Linked DNA regions of Homo sapiens: region 2 is linked to region 1. The links are contacts of gene promoters, found by promoter capture Hi-C in blood cells and fetal thymus (Javierre and others, 2016). All regions are on one chromosome and are shown on one strand. Each heading gives the region's core, a stretch centred on a gene start or on the middle of the fragment in contact. The rest is flanking DNA. Distances are from core to core; before and after follow the strand shown.

Evidence for each region. The method cuts DNA at HindIII sites, captures the fragments that hold promoters and counts their contacts. A CHiCAGO score of 5 or more calls a contact.
Region 2: a fragment that was not itself captured here is called in contact with the fragment with the promoter of RD3 in region 1 in 6 of 17 cell types (naive CD4 T cells, M2 macrophages, M1 macrophages and 3 more); the score reaches 7.4 in naive CD4 T cells.

What each region holds. Positions count from the first base shown.
Region 1 is chr1:211,486,004-211,493,502 of GRCh38, reverse strand. RD3 (RD3 regulator of GUCY2D) reads left to right here and starts at 1,341. Exons shown (of 3, transcript NM_001164688.2): 1 at 1,341-1,735. The HindIII fragment of the contact is 10,925 bases long and covers 1-3,767 here.
Region 2 is chr1:211,314,405-211,321,766 of GRCh38, reverse strand. RCOR3 (REST corepressor 3) reads right to left here. Exons shown (of 12, transcript NM_001136223.3): 12 at 5,382-7,362. Among named protein-coding and RNA genes, the nearest start is that of TRAF5, 8.7 kb to the left of the region's middle. The HindIII fragment of the contact is 3,259 bases long and covers 2,175-5,433 here.

The sequences.
Region 1 (7,499 bases), core at 92-2,591:
ATCCCCCTGCTCCCTTCCCTACAGTGTGGAAATGCCTGGGAATTTCTGCCCTTGGACCTCCAAGCCACGCCCCTTGGGAAAGTGCCAGGATAGTGGTGGGGTGCTCAGAGGTGGGGACTCCCAGTTACCTGCTTTGGGTGACTCTGGCCTTAGCTGGCCCTGAGGTGGAGGCCGCCTGGGAACTGTGGGTCAGAGGAAGTCAGCTTCAGCTCCCTCAAATGTGGGGATCTTCCATCCCCAAGTGACCCACTCAATCTTTGGGGCTGTCGTGCTGTGAACTGGTCAAGAGAAGTATATGATCCAACTCCTGACTCAAGAATCTTGCCTGCTTGATGGATGAAGAGGGAAGGCGGATGGAACCAGCTGAGTGGAACCAGCCACAGAGCAAGCACGAAGTGACAAATCACCCAGGGACGAAATCATGCAGGCAGGCAGGTGGGCAACCTGAGTCCATTTCATCAGCCATTGTTTAATTTATTCTTGGTTGTACTTTCTGCTTTATTTCCAACACAATCAAAACCAGATGTGTGCAAAAGTCACGCTATCACCCAGCACAGGATTACCTAAGATCTATTATAATGCAGCTTCATGCCCATTACAGTATTCCCATGCCCCTCACAGGGCAGTGTGCATCTGTTTTAGTGCTACCTAATGTCTGTTAGGTGCAAGCTGGCCCACACATGGCTTCTAGGCAGAACAGTCTACAAGTGACAGCGTGACCAGAGAGCAGAGACAGGAAGGAGGCCCAGACATGAGTGTGGGATGCTGCAGAACAGCAACAGGATGCTTCTGCTATCCCCAAATGTTATCTCAAATACCTCAACGTCAATGCTTTCTGTTCCATGTTCCTCTTCTCCCTGGACAGCCCCTCCTTCTGAAAGTCAGAACTGTCTGCTCTTGAGCTTGCCTTGAGGGAAGGAAATAATTTAGATAAGCAGAGAGGAAGACAGGCAAGGGATGTGGTGGGGCAAAGGCGGAGATGTATCTTCACAGGTCCCTGTCCTCAGCACCCAGAATCACCCCTTCCCTGTAGGAGGGAGCTGATAGAAAGAGGGGATCTCCATCCAGGAGCCACCCACCAGGCAGCTGGAAACATTTGCCAACAGCAGGTACACCTAGGGCTCAGCAGAGGGTTGGGTGAGAATGGTCTTGCCCAGTTTGTGCCACACTGAGCACCGGCTGGAGGAGGAAGCGGACAGAATGCCATCTGGACACAAGTGCTCCCTCACTGCCTGGGCCTGGGTCGCCTCAGGCTTTTGTGTCAGATCAGCCACTCCCTCTACAGATAATGCTGCTCCAGGCAAAGAGGCTTAGGTGGGTCTCCAGGGCAACCGCAGCTCAGGAGCTGGCCCGCCTCCATGGTTCATCAGGGAAGCTGTGGCTCCAGCCTCGCGGGATACATACACGCATACACACACACACACACACACACACACACACACACACACACACACCTACACACCCCACAAACAATAGTCCAGGCTGGATCTCTCCTCCTGTCTCTTCTCTTGGTAAAACTTCTCAGAGAACCAAAGAGAGGCAAAATTTGAGGCCAGCCGGCAGCAGCAGAGAAGCTGAGGGAGACTTGAGGATGTAGACTGCCCTGCCCTGCTGTGGCTGCTCAACTTTCTTTTTTTTTCCTGAAAATATCCAGACACTCTCTTCTCCCAGACTGGGAAGCAGAACGCAGGCCCCCTGCTGTGACGCTGCACCTGAGCAGAGGCTGACCTCAGAGGTAAGATGGAGGTCTCCCCAGGAGACAGTGTCTTCCCCACCCGCACCCTGGCACAGCTGCACCTTTGGAAGTTAGGGCTGAGGCTTGAAGCTGGGTGGGGTGGCCTCAAGGGGTGTGGCAGGCTGGGGAGCCTAGAAAGCCGCCCACCTCCGGGACCCAGATGGCCACAGGAAGGCCCCTTTAGTCCTCATCAGTTCCACAGGAGTTGGAACCGATGAGGGTCCTGCAGCTTCCTCGGGGCTATAGCCTGCTCCTTGTTTTGTAAACCTGTGGGAAGCCATTGTTTTTGCCTGTTCTGGAACTGCAAGCCTCTCGGGGAGGACCCAGCTCCAGCAGGTTCCTTTCTGCCTTTATAGAGTGGACACAGGCAGGGGGAAGGAAAGCGAAACCCAAATCAGAGACTCTTGCATGGGTTTGCGAACTGTGATTCGAGCATCTACTAAGTCCAAGGCACAGAGTCAGGCTCTGGGGATGCAGCAGCACCCAGGGCACGAGGGTGATGGATGTGCCTCAGTCCCCTCGAACATGGAGCAGTCTGTGCATCCCTGATAACATGCCCAGGAGAGTGGGCCCAGGCAGATGGGTGCAGGGTGGGGCGCCAGGGAGATCGGGCCTAGAAGGAAAGTCCAGCTGCGACCAAGGGATGAGGGTCAGTCCCCTCCCACTGTGGTCAGTCAGACCTGTGTACACGCCCTCTCCTGGCTGCACCTCTGCCTCAGAATGGGAAGGACTGGCTGCCATTCACTCATTCATTCAGGAACCGCTTATCAAGTGCTACCATGTGCAGCAGATTCAACCCACATTCCTCTCGCCCTTGCAGAATTCATAGCTAGGTGGGGAAGAGATAAATACAACCCAAAGCGTGAGAAACGTGTTTGCTAGATGCCATGGTGATGGGCCCTTGTGTCAGGCCCTGGTGGCTGGGATCAGTGCTCCATGGGTGGGGGGAAGTGAGGGGCCGGCTGCAGGGAGGAGTTGTCTCTTGAGGGGTTCCCGACAAATGAGCAGATGTCTGTCAGGTGGGCAGAGGATCCACAGGTCAGGCCCGCTCATATCTGGCTTGGTGGATTATAGGTTGTTTTTCTGTGATGCCAAAGAGAAATAAGGTCAATTTGCAATCTGTAAAGTTGGACTTGGGCCTTATCAAACACAGAGCTGGGAGGCAGATTAGCCAGAGAAGCACCTACTCTCTGCCCCCACTGAGAAGTCTCTGCCCAGACTGAGCGTCTGGCGTCAGCAGAGCCAGCCTGCCCCTGCAGTGAAGCTGCCAGTGCTCTGGGACAGCCTGACTCAGGTGCTGCTCTATGCCTGGGTCCGGCGGGTCACACAGGGCAGCCCCTCACCCTGGCCTGCAGATGCCTAGCTCAGCTTCAGAGGTGGAGGACCCGGGCCGGGTTCCCTGGCCATGGCTCCCTTTGCACTGAGAAATTGGCCTTCCTGGGCAAGGTCTGCACGCCCTCACTGTTTGGCTGGGGCCGGCGCAGGGCCTCAGTTCTCACTAGAGGTGAGGGCACTCTCATCCCTCCTGCAGGGGGTCAGAGCCCTGCTTCCAGCTCCAAGGTCACACTCCCCATTGTTCCCACCATTGAGACATCCCTGGTCCCCCTCTGAGTGCCAAGTGGAACCAGAGACTCCTCTTGCCCTTGAGGCACAACGCGAGAGTTTTTCCAGCACAGCTAACGAGCCACAGCTGGTAGTGGCGCCTCCCAGGAGCCACAGAAAAGACATTATCCTCAGGGATGTTCAAAAATAGGCTGAAAGGAAGGCTCTGAGAGTGTGGGGGTGGAAGGGGTAATGAAGGAGAAAGGAAAGAGGAAAGAGAAGATCAGAGAATGGAAGATAACGGGCGTGGGTGAGTGACACCAAAAGGCAGAGACAGAACGTGCGAGGGCTTCCCCATCATCCACTCTGCTCTGTAAACCTGAGGCCTCACCACCTGGGCCTTCTCTTGAAACAGGGAGGCTCAGCTCTCCCAACACGGTGACCAGAAGCCAGGGCTGGGGAAGGCCAGGAACAAAGTTGGGGTCAAGCTTGCACCAAGCCAGGGGATCCTTTATTTTTGTGCCCCCTTTGGGAGTCTGTGAAGCCTGTGGACACGTTCCTAGAAAAATGCTTCTAAATGCATAAAAGTAAATTCACTGGGGTACAAAGGAAACAAGCTCTATTGAAATGCAGCTATCAAAAAAAAAAAAAAGAAAGAAAAAATGATTTATGATATAATAATATGTGTGCTTCCCTATCAACATGTGAAATAATAAAACCTAGTAGCAAGTCTAATAAATGCCACAATTTCATAGTAGTGATGAGCATACCAGATAATTCAAGAATAACAACTTTAAAGCATTTTGTGAAAAATCTGTGGTTTCTGCTGGAGATAAAGCCATGGGGCTACTGATATTACTGTGGTCTATGACCCTCATTCATAACTAAAGAAATACCACATTTCAGTTAAAGGTTAGTGGAAATAAAGATGACTTTTTTCCCCACCCAAGTTCATAAATCCCTGAATTTTCCCTAGGACCCAAGGGTAAGAATCTGTACTAAGCGACAATGGTAGCCACTGATCTAGGTGAATCAGCTTATTGTTAGTTTATAAAAATAAAACATTTACAAAGACATAATCTCATTTGATTTTCACAGTAACTTGAAATAGGTACCTTTATTATTCCCTTATAGATTGGGGAAACTGAGGCTTGGGGCCATGAAGGTGACTTGGACAAAGGCAGCATACACGGGAGGGGAAGGGCGTAGGAACTGAATTCAGGTTTTATCTGCTGAAGGCTGCACTGTCTCCCCAAGCCCAGCCTGCTCCACCTGAGCTGGTGATCAAGTAGAGGCGGAGTGGGGGTGCAGCCAGGCCACCCAGCATGCATCTGAGGTCAAAAGCAGTGGAGGTGGTGAGTGGGGGTGAGAGTGGGGATGGTACTGGACCCCAGGCCCCAGACTCCACGGAGGGAATATGGGGAGAGGGAACGGAAGGCATGTATGTGTCAATGGACAGCAGCAACTCTGTCCCCACCCCGGCTCCCAGACAAAAGAGGGAAACGCAGCCCAAAGATTCTTACTAAGGACCCCAAGATGGATAGGGGTCTTAACAAGCAGGGCCCAGCCCATGTTCCTAGCTGGCTTTCATTTCTTTTCTTCTTGTTTTGTGTCATCATTGCATTTGGTCATCTGTCTCCTCTCTATAGAGCCTTCAAGACCTCTTTCCAGGTGGGTTTTTTTTTTTTTTTTTGACAGAGTCTTGTTCTGTCGCCTAGGCTGGAGTGCAGTGGCACCATCTTGGCTCACTGCAGCCTCCACCTCCCGGGTTCAAGCAATTCTCATGCCTCAGCCTCCTGAGTAGCTGGGATTACAGGCATCTGCAACCACACCTGGCTAATTTTTGTATTTTTAGTAGAGATGGGGTTTCACCATATTGGCCAGGCTGGTCTCAAATTCCTGGCCTCAAGTGATCTGCCTGCCTTGGCCTCCCAAAGTGCTGGGATTATAGTCGTGAGCCACCGCTCCCGGCCTCCAGGTGAACTTTTTAGCCACCTGATTGTGTCTCATAAGAATTACAACCCCTGATCACTGCACAGGATTTGTATAGTTTACTGAATGTTTTCACATATTGTCTCCTGCCCGAGTCTCAGAGAAGCCCTGTGGAGTGGGCTGAGCTGGTGTCTGAACACCATTTTATAAATGCAGAAACCAAGGCCTCGCTGGTTAATGAGCAGTAGCGGTTATGCAGAGAACAGGGGCAGGCACTTCCTGGGCACACCCTGCACTGCTTACACAGCCGAGGCCCAGGAGTCCCTTTCCACTCAGGAGAGCTGTGCCTTTGGTGGCATCGCAATTGCTTGTCTGCTTGTTTTCCCCCCTCTCTTGAGTGTACACTCCTTGAGGGAGTCCCAGCACCTAGCACAGCGACAGGCAGGTCACACACTCCTCCTGTGTCTGCTGAGCGAGTGAGTGGATGAGAACTCAGCCCTGCGCCTCAGTCTCCAGGCCCTAGGCCCTCCCCGCACACGCCACTGTGCAAGGCCTCGATGCCCAGGCTCGTGGGTGAAGAAAGACACAGCAGCAGAAATGAGCAGAATAGGGACTGCAGGCAGGGGTCCCGAGGAACAACGCAGGCCATCAGGTAGAGTGAATCAGGAAGGCTTCCTGCACAAGTGAGTTTTGAGGTAGAGCTTTCCCAACTTTTAAACTTGAATATGCATAAACATGCAGAAAAGTGTGATAAATATCTATCAATATCCCCCAGATACAACAATTGCTAATATTTTGCCATATTTGCTCTTGTAGGGGCCAAGGGCTTGGCCCTATGAAGGTTCACTTAAAAATCAACTCAAGAAAGGCTGATTAATTAGAGAAAAGGCGTACACATTTATCACAAACGCGTACATGGGGAGAATCACAGAGGAACTGCTCACCCCACACTGTGGTTCGGAAGCTTATATATCATCCTGGCAAAGCAGGTTATGGGAGGGGGAGAACAGCAGTTCTGGTGAGAGGATTACTAGGGAGAATGAACGGGGCAGGGATCAGAAATGAACTTGTACATTATCCTGGGAGAGGGTCTGTTCAGGTGGGGGCTCATTCTCGGTCTTAAGAAAGGGGAAGAAAAAAACCATTGTTCCCTTTGGTGGATCTGGATCTTAGGCAGACAAAGGCTTTGGAAGAGACGGTGGCCGTGGGGAGGGCCAGAGAGACCACGAGGCTTCTTCAGCTCAGCATGTCCAAATGCCATATCTTAGGATATTGGTTTCTGAGCCCCAACATCCTGTTTATGGGGTGTGTGTATACATATTTATGTAATGTTTTCTGAACTATTTGAATGTAAGATATTGTAGACACCCATAAACACTTCAGCACCTCCTAAGATTGAGCTATTGGCCAATATTCCACAGATAGTTTTCTTTTTTTCTTTTCTTTTTTGGAGACAGAGTTTCGCTCTTGTCACCCAGGCTGGAGTGCAATGGTGCAATCTCGGCTCACTGCAACCTCTGCCTCCCGGGTTCAAGCCATTCTCCTGCCTTAGCCTCCCAAGTAGCCGGGATTACAGGCATGCATGCCTGGCTAATTTTTGTATTATTAGTAGAGACGGGATTTCACCATGTTGGCCAGGCTGGTCTCGAACTCCTGACCTCAGGTGATCCACTTGCACCGGCCTCCCAAAGTGCTGAGATGACAGATGTGAGCCACCGTGCCCAGCCCCATGGATTATTTTCTAACATCCAGCTCATATTCAGATTTCCTCAGTTATCCTAATTTTTTTTTGTTTGAGTCGGAGTCTCTCTTTGTTGCCCAGGCTGGAGTGCAATGGCACGATCTCAGCTCACTGCAACCTCTGCCTCCCAGGTTCAATCGATTCTTCCACCTCCCGACTAGCTGGAATTACAGGTGCCCGCCACCATGCCCAGCTAATGTTTGTATTTTTAGTAGAGACGGGGTTTCACTGTGTTGCCCAGGCTGGTCTCGAACTCGTGACCTCAGGTGATCCACCCACCTTGGCCTCCCAAAGTGCTGGGATTATAGGTGTGAGCCACCACACCCAGCCTTTTTTTCTTTTAAATATAAAGAAGGGGATCTTTCCTAACTTGATAAAGGGTATCTCCTTTTTTTTTTTTTTGAGATGGGGTCTCACTCTGTCACCCAGGCTGGAGTGCAGTGGCGCGATCTCAACTCACTGCAACCGCTACCTCCCAGGCTCAAGTTAGCTCAAGTTATCCTCCCACCTCAGCCTCCTGAGTAGTTGGAACTACAGGCGCATGCCACA
Region 2 (7,362 bases), core at 2,555-5,054, 170 kb after region 1:
ATCTAAAAAAAAAAAAAAAGAAAATTAATATGAATAAATACGTAGCAGTTTGTGTCAAGTAGGAAAATACTTTTGTCATTGATCCATGTTGGTGCATAAGTCATTAGTGTTTTCTTTCTTATTGTTGACTACCTCATACCATGCATAAAAATTAACCAGATGGAGCATAAGATCTAAATATAAGAACAAAACTATAAATTTCTAGAAAAATACACCTGAAAATATATCACCAAAGCATGATCCATAATAGAAAAATTGTATTGATAGACCATTTTGTTTATTCCCCAGCTGATAGACATTTGGATTATTTCTAGTTTTTACAATTATAAATAATGCTGCTGTGAACATTTGAATAGAAGTTTTTGTGTGCACATACATTTTCATTTCTCTTTAGGTAGATGCCTAGGAGTAAAATTAATGGGTTGTATTGTAAGTGTACATTTAGTCTTTTAGATGTTGCCAAATAGGTTTCCAAAGTAGTTGTGTCATATTACATTTCTACCATCCATGTAAGAGGGTTCCGGTTTCTTCACATCCCTGACAACACTTGGTATTGTCAGTCTTTTTAATATTAGCTATTCTAGTGGGTGTTACAGGTAGCTCATTGTGGTTTTACTTTGCATTTCCTTTATGACTAATGATGTGATCATCTTTTTTTCCATTTGCATATCTTCTTCGGCAAATGTCTATCCAAATCTTCCACCACCCCGCTCTTTTTGTTCTATTATTGATTTGAAAGAGCGCTTATATTTGAATTGGAAGAGTTTGTTATATATTCTGGATACAAATCTTTGATCAGACATATGTTTGGCAAATATTTTCTCCTGACCGATGGCTAACCTTTTCATTTTCTTGTGTCTTTTGAAAAGGAACATTTTTAATTTTGATGAAATATAATTTATCAATTTTTTCTATTATGGATCATGCTTCAGTGATATATTTTCTCGTTTTTTTTTTCTAGAAAGTTATATTTTTGTTCTTTTTTGTTTGTTTGTTTTGGTTTTTTTTTTTTTTTTGGAGACAGAGTCTCACCCTGTCCCACCCATGCTGGAGTACAGTGGCGCGATCTTGGCTCACTGCAACCTCCACCTCCTGGGTTCAAGTAATTCTCCTGCGTCAGCCTCCCGAGTACCTGGGATTACAGGCGTGCCCCACACACCCGGCTAATTTTTGTATTTTTAGTAGAGACAGGGTTTCACCATATTGGCCAGGCTGGTCTCAAACTTCCAACCTGAGGTGATCCGCCCACCTCGGGCTTCCAAAGTGCTGGGATTACAGGTGTGAGCCGCCATGCTCGGCCATTTTTGTTCTTATATTTAGGTCTGTGTTCCATCTCATGTTTATTTTTATGCATGATGTGAGGGAAGGATCAAGGTTTATTGGAGGTTTTTTTTTTTGCATGCAGATATTCTATCACTTCTGCCATTGAATTACACTGACACTTTCATTGAAAATTAGTTGATCACATATGGATGAGTCTATTTCTGGACTCTATTTTGTTCCATTGATCTATATGTCCATCATTACACCAATATTACAATCTTGATTATTGCATCTTTATAACAAATATGGAAATCAGTTAGTGCCAATCACCCAATTTTGTTCTTCTTCAAAATTGTTTTGTCTATTTTAAGTTAGGAGTTGCTGCCTGTTTTTGTAAATAAAGTTTTATTGACACATAGCTATATCTGTCCATTTATGTATTTTCTCTGGCTGTTTTTGAACTAAAATGGTAGAGGCCAGGAGTTGCAACAGTTTGTGGACCACAAAGCCTAATATATTTACTATTTGGCTATTTATAGAAAAAGTTTACTGGCCCCTGTTCTAGGTCCTTTGCATTACCATATAAATTTCAAAATCAGTTTGCCAGTCTGTGCAAAATAAGCCTGCTAGGATTTTTATAAGAATTAGATTGAATCTATAAATCAGTTTGAGGAGAAATGCCATTTTAACAATATCAATCTTCCAATCCATGAACAGTTAGTTATTTAGGTCTTATTTCTCTCAGCAATATAGTTTTTCATGGACAAGTCTTGCACATTTTTGTTTATTCCTATTTTTTGATACTATCATGAATAAAATTTTCTTAATTCCATTCTCAGATCACTTGTTGCCATTATATGAAAATACAATTGATTGTACATTGATCTTGTATCCTCTGATTTTCTTAAGCTTGCTTACTATTCTAGTTTTTGCAGGTTTCTTGGGATTTTTTACATACAATTTCATGTCATCTGCACATAAAAACAATTTTAGTTTTTCCTTTCCAATCTCTATACTTTTTTCTTGCCTATTGCACTGGCTATAACCTTCAGTAAACCACTGAATAGAGTTGTGAGTGCAGACATCCTTGCCTTGATTTCCATCCTGAGGGGAAGCATTCCTAGTTTTCTAAGTTTTAATCATGAATAGGTGTTGGATTTTGTCAAATATCTTTTCTGTGTCTATCAACATAATCATATGGCTTTTTTCCTTTATTTTATTAATATGATATATTGCAATGATTCTCAACTGGAGGTGATTTTGCTCCTTATGGGACATTTGACCATGTCTGGAGACATTTTTGATTCTCAAACTGGGGAAGGGGGTTCTACTGGTATCTGGTGGGTAGAGGCTGAGGATGCTGTTCAACATTCTAAATGCACAAAAAAGAATTATCTAACCTAAAATGTCAGTAGTGCTGATATTGAGCAATATTTCATGTGCACATGGAAACAATGTTTATTCTGCTGTTGGGTAGAATGATCCCACATTTCAACTAGGTAAAGGTGTGTTATTCAAGTCATAGGCTGCAATCAAGCTGTTAGCTGGGTTCTGGTCATCTCAAGACCCAACTGGGGAAGGATCCATTTTCAAGTGCACATGGATGTTGGCAGGATTCAGTTCCTGGCAGGTTGTTGAACTGAAGGCCTGAGTTCTTTGCTGGCTGTTAGCAAAAGGCTGGCTTCAGCTCTTTGTCACATTAGAGGTTCCTTAATTCTGCTGGCTTTTGTCATAAATGTATCCCCATCTGCTGGTAGCTCCTCCTCTGGCTTCCTAGCACTGCTAAGGGTTATTTTGGTTTTTCTATTTCTTGTCATTTCAGTAAGACTGGCAGGGGGAGATTATGGGTAAGAAAAGTAAAAGACTATGTCCAGTCTGTCATCTTGAACTGAAATTAATCTCTCATTTTTGCACTGCACTTTAATTTTTTTAAAAAAATGAGCTGAGATTGCGCCATTGCACTCCAGCCTGGGTGACAGAACGAGACTCTGTCCAAAAAAAAAAAAAAAAGTCACAATACATTTCCCTTATTAAGAAGGGTATGGTATAAGTAGACATGTAAAAACCTCTAACATACATTGGGCAGGTACTATATGCCCCAGTTTATATATTCCTCCCCAAATGAGGAAAATGAGGCTCACAGAGATTAAGTAACTTGCTTAGTGGAGTTGGAAAACTCATTGTGTTAAAGGTTGGTGGGCAATTATTTTGCAAATATAGGCCACAAGCCCTCAATGATTCTGATTATTTTCAAACTCTTTTGGAAAAGATGAAGAGGCAGGATATCAACAAAATGGTCTTTGGATTAAAGGCCTCTTCAAGCCAAATCCTGTCAAATAAGAAAGCTGTTCCAGGTAGTAAACTAGACAGATCCCTCAAGAGATACCTTGTGTTGTGGTATTATTCAGCATCTTCTTAGTTATTGGTAACTGTACCTTACAAATAAGATTAAATTGTACAGAATAAAAATTTCACCTTTCTTAAAATAGTCCAAGGGAAGGAAACATATGAAGCATTCTGTGACATCAACTTTGACCTCATTTACATTGTGAAGACTGTTCTTAGATCTCTCCACTTCACATCACCAGCATTTTTTCCTTAGAGACCCTGCTCACCCAGATTCCTGCTTTAGGATTCTAAAGTTTAGATTACTGCATTGTAAAGACTGTTCCGTTTATTAATAAACAATTGTCTACTTTAAACCAAGTAATGACAATTGGCAAACATCTCAACCCAATATTAACTTCTGATCTTCACTGTTTCTCCCTTAGCTATATAGACTTAGGAGAGCAAAAAAGGGCAGATAAAGCCACATGGCCCTTTAGACACAAACTCACACATCTAGGAGCATTCCTTGTCATGTTTAATTCTCAAACTCCATTGTCACTAATATACTGCTGCAGAACATTCCTTCCCTAAGGCAGTTATGATAAAGAAGTTGTGGGGAGTTACACATGACCTACTCTTTCCTAGGTGAAAACAGTTCAGGTACTACCATAAATCAGATGTCAAAAGTTTCTTGTAGGCATTTTCTAATATGGAATGGTTTCTCAAACTTGATTCTTGGGTTCTTTCCGTATTCATTTATTCTGTTATTTTCTTATAAACGATGTAATCTATAATGAATGGCTAAATTTAAAAACACTTTTTTTCTTGTGTGTCCTCTAATAAGAATGTATTTGTCATTTATTTTGGGCATGCACAAAGAGAAAGATAGATTCTTCTTAGAGTTCGAAGTCAGATTACTATTCTTTTTGAGGAGATCCTGACACCCCAGTGTTAACTAGTTAGCAGTTATTAATGTTCATAAATAACCTTTTGATAACAGGAGGGAACATAAAATTAATACAACATACTTAATAACTAAACTAGGTACTTTAACCCAAGTACAGTCATGCACCACACAATATTTCGGTCAGTGACTGCAAATACACTGATGTTCTTTAAAATTATAACATCAGCAGGAAGCAGTGGCTCATACCTGTAATCCCAGCACTTTGGGAGGCCAAGACAGGTGGATCACCTGAGACCAGGACTTCAAGATCAGCCCGACCAACACGGTGGAACCCCATCTCTACTAAAAAATACAAAACTTAGCCAGGTGTGGTGGCGGGCGCCTGTAATCCCAGACACTCAGGAGGCTGAGACAGGAGAACTGCTTGAGCCTGGGAGGCAAAGGTTGCTGAGCCAAGATCCCGCCACTGCACTCCAGCCTGTGCGACAGAGTGAGAACCTGTCTCAAAAAATAAATATATAAAATATTGTATTTTTACTATACCTTTTCTATGTTTAGATACACAGATATTACCACTGTGTTATAACTGCCTATGATATTCAGTACAGTATATTACTGTACAGCATAGGACTGTTGCCTAGGAGCAAAGGCTATACCATATAGCCTAGGTGTGTAGTAGACTTTGCCACCAATGTTGGTACAAGTACAATCTGATTCACAGCACAAAAGAATCACCTAACAGCACCTTTCTCAGACCATATCCCCGTTGTTAAGGGCATGACTGTACTTGCAATTTTTAATATTCTTAAAAATGATAGTCACGTTCTTGGCTTGCTCTCTACATCTATTCCTAAAAAGAATGTAGGCCTACATTAAGACAAAATTTTATATTATTTCACCTTTATTTTATATTCTATTTTACTCAATTGCAAGCTTATTAAGAACATAAAAAGTTTGATCATAACTTACTCTTACCTCATCCATATTACACTAGAATTAAATCATATAGAAAAACATTGTTTCCATTAGTTTTATAAGATGTATCCACAGTGTGGTTTATTTTTAGTTATGTAATTTTAAAAAACCACTTTGGTGTAGATTTCTCAAAAATGATAACCCTGAAATTAATGAAAATTGTCATTAAAAGATTTCTAGTTTTGCTTTTATAAAAATCATTATTTCGAATTTCACAGTGAAGAGGTACTAAATTCCTCATAGAACATGAAATTATATAAAAATAGAAGACATAGACATCTTTAAATCTTTAATCCTTTGATTAAGCAGCAAGCATATCACTCTTCCAGGCCAAACACTGCTTAAACAAAAAAGAAAAATAATGACGTGCAAAATATTTACAAAATATGCAAAGCACACAATAAAGACATCTCACTATATACATGTGTCATATTACTAATGAAGCTAAAGTTTTTCTACTGTGTGCTCTAATGCATGTAAATCAAATTACAGCACATCCCTCAGATACAGCACCTTGGCCCATGTCTGGGATAGAAGAGATTTTTTAATGAATCACAATATACTGAACAGCTGGACAGATGCTGGTGCTGACCAACTTGACTGACATATCCCACATACTGTGTACTGAAGGTCTACTGACAAGAGACAAGACAATAAACGCTGTAAAGGTATAGTATGCACATACGTAAGACAATCTAAGTGCTTTAAAAAATGTTTTAGATATTTTAAGATATTTAACTGTCCCCTGTGGCTTTTAAGGAAAAAATAAGTATAAATTCTTGAATATTAAGAATTTTAAATCAGCTAAATTCAGGGCCAAGAACTATTTAAGATGATTCAATGAGAAAGAAAAGGACCTAACCTGGAAAAAGAGTTTCAAATATGCCAGTACGTAGGGTATTTATGGAAATACACAGTCTAAAATTAAAAATTAAAACTAATCAATGAATTTAAATCTATAGCACTTTAAGGCTGTGGAGCCAACAATAGGGAATACTTTGGGAACACATGATCTTTCAAAACATAAATTAGGGCCTTAGATGTTGACTATTTTGTGAAGTATTCTACACGTGATAAGAATGTGAATGTGCAAACATGTAGCCTATGTCCACTAGTATAGCAATCTAAGTGATCTGTCTGTCCCTTTGCACAAATAATGATTCCAATATGAAATCACTGTATCAAAAATATTAATTACACATTGTTGAAATACTATCACTTGTAAAATATTCTTTGTTAAGTACTTAATGATTATGGGTTGAATTAAGAAGACTTGATGTCTTTTTGTTTTTCTATAAAAAGGGGTCTCAGCATTTTTAGTTAACAGCACAACTGTGACAATATACTGATACATCTTTAGATAACACAGAACAAATTCTTATTTTATGAAATAATGTTGATGATTTAACCCTACACCAATCCCACGAATACAGGTTGGCTGCAAGGAATACACAAATGTATCCAAATAGTACAATAGATTTATCAATAAAACACCTTTCATATTAAATGCAGACCATATTATTAAGTATGAGGGCAATTTTAAGTTCAGAAACCAAACATGTAAAGGGTACTGTAAAGAAATGCTTCCATAACCACTGTGTCTACTTAACTAACAAAATATAATTCTTCTCTGAAGTCCCCAGATGTAGGCAACTACTAGTTAAAAGCAGATAGCATTTAGAAACAAAAAAAACCAACTCCATTTTCAAGGAACTTAAAGAGATTATATTTCAACAAATTAAGTCCTCATTTGTATGCAAAATTATTCTTCCAATCCTCTCATTACTGACAGATGATGAGTCAATGACCTTTAAACAAGGACTCTGCGCTAGGACCCTAAACTGTATGTTAAAGGGTTAGTAGGTTCAGTACATTCTTTGTGGTTTTAT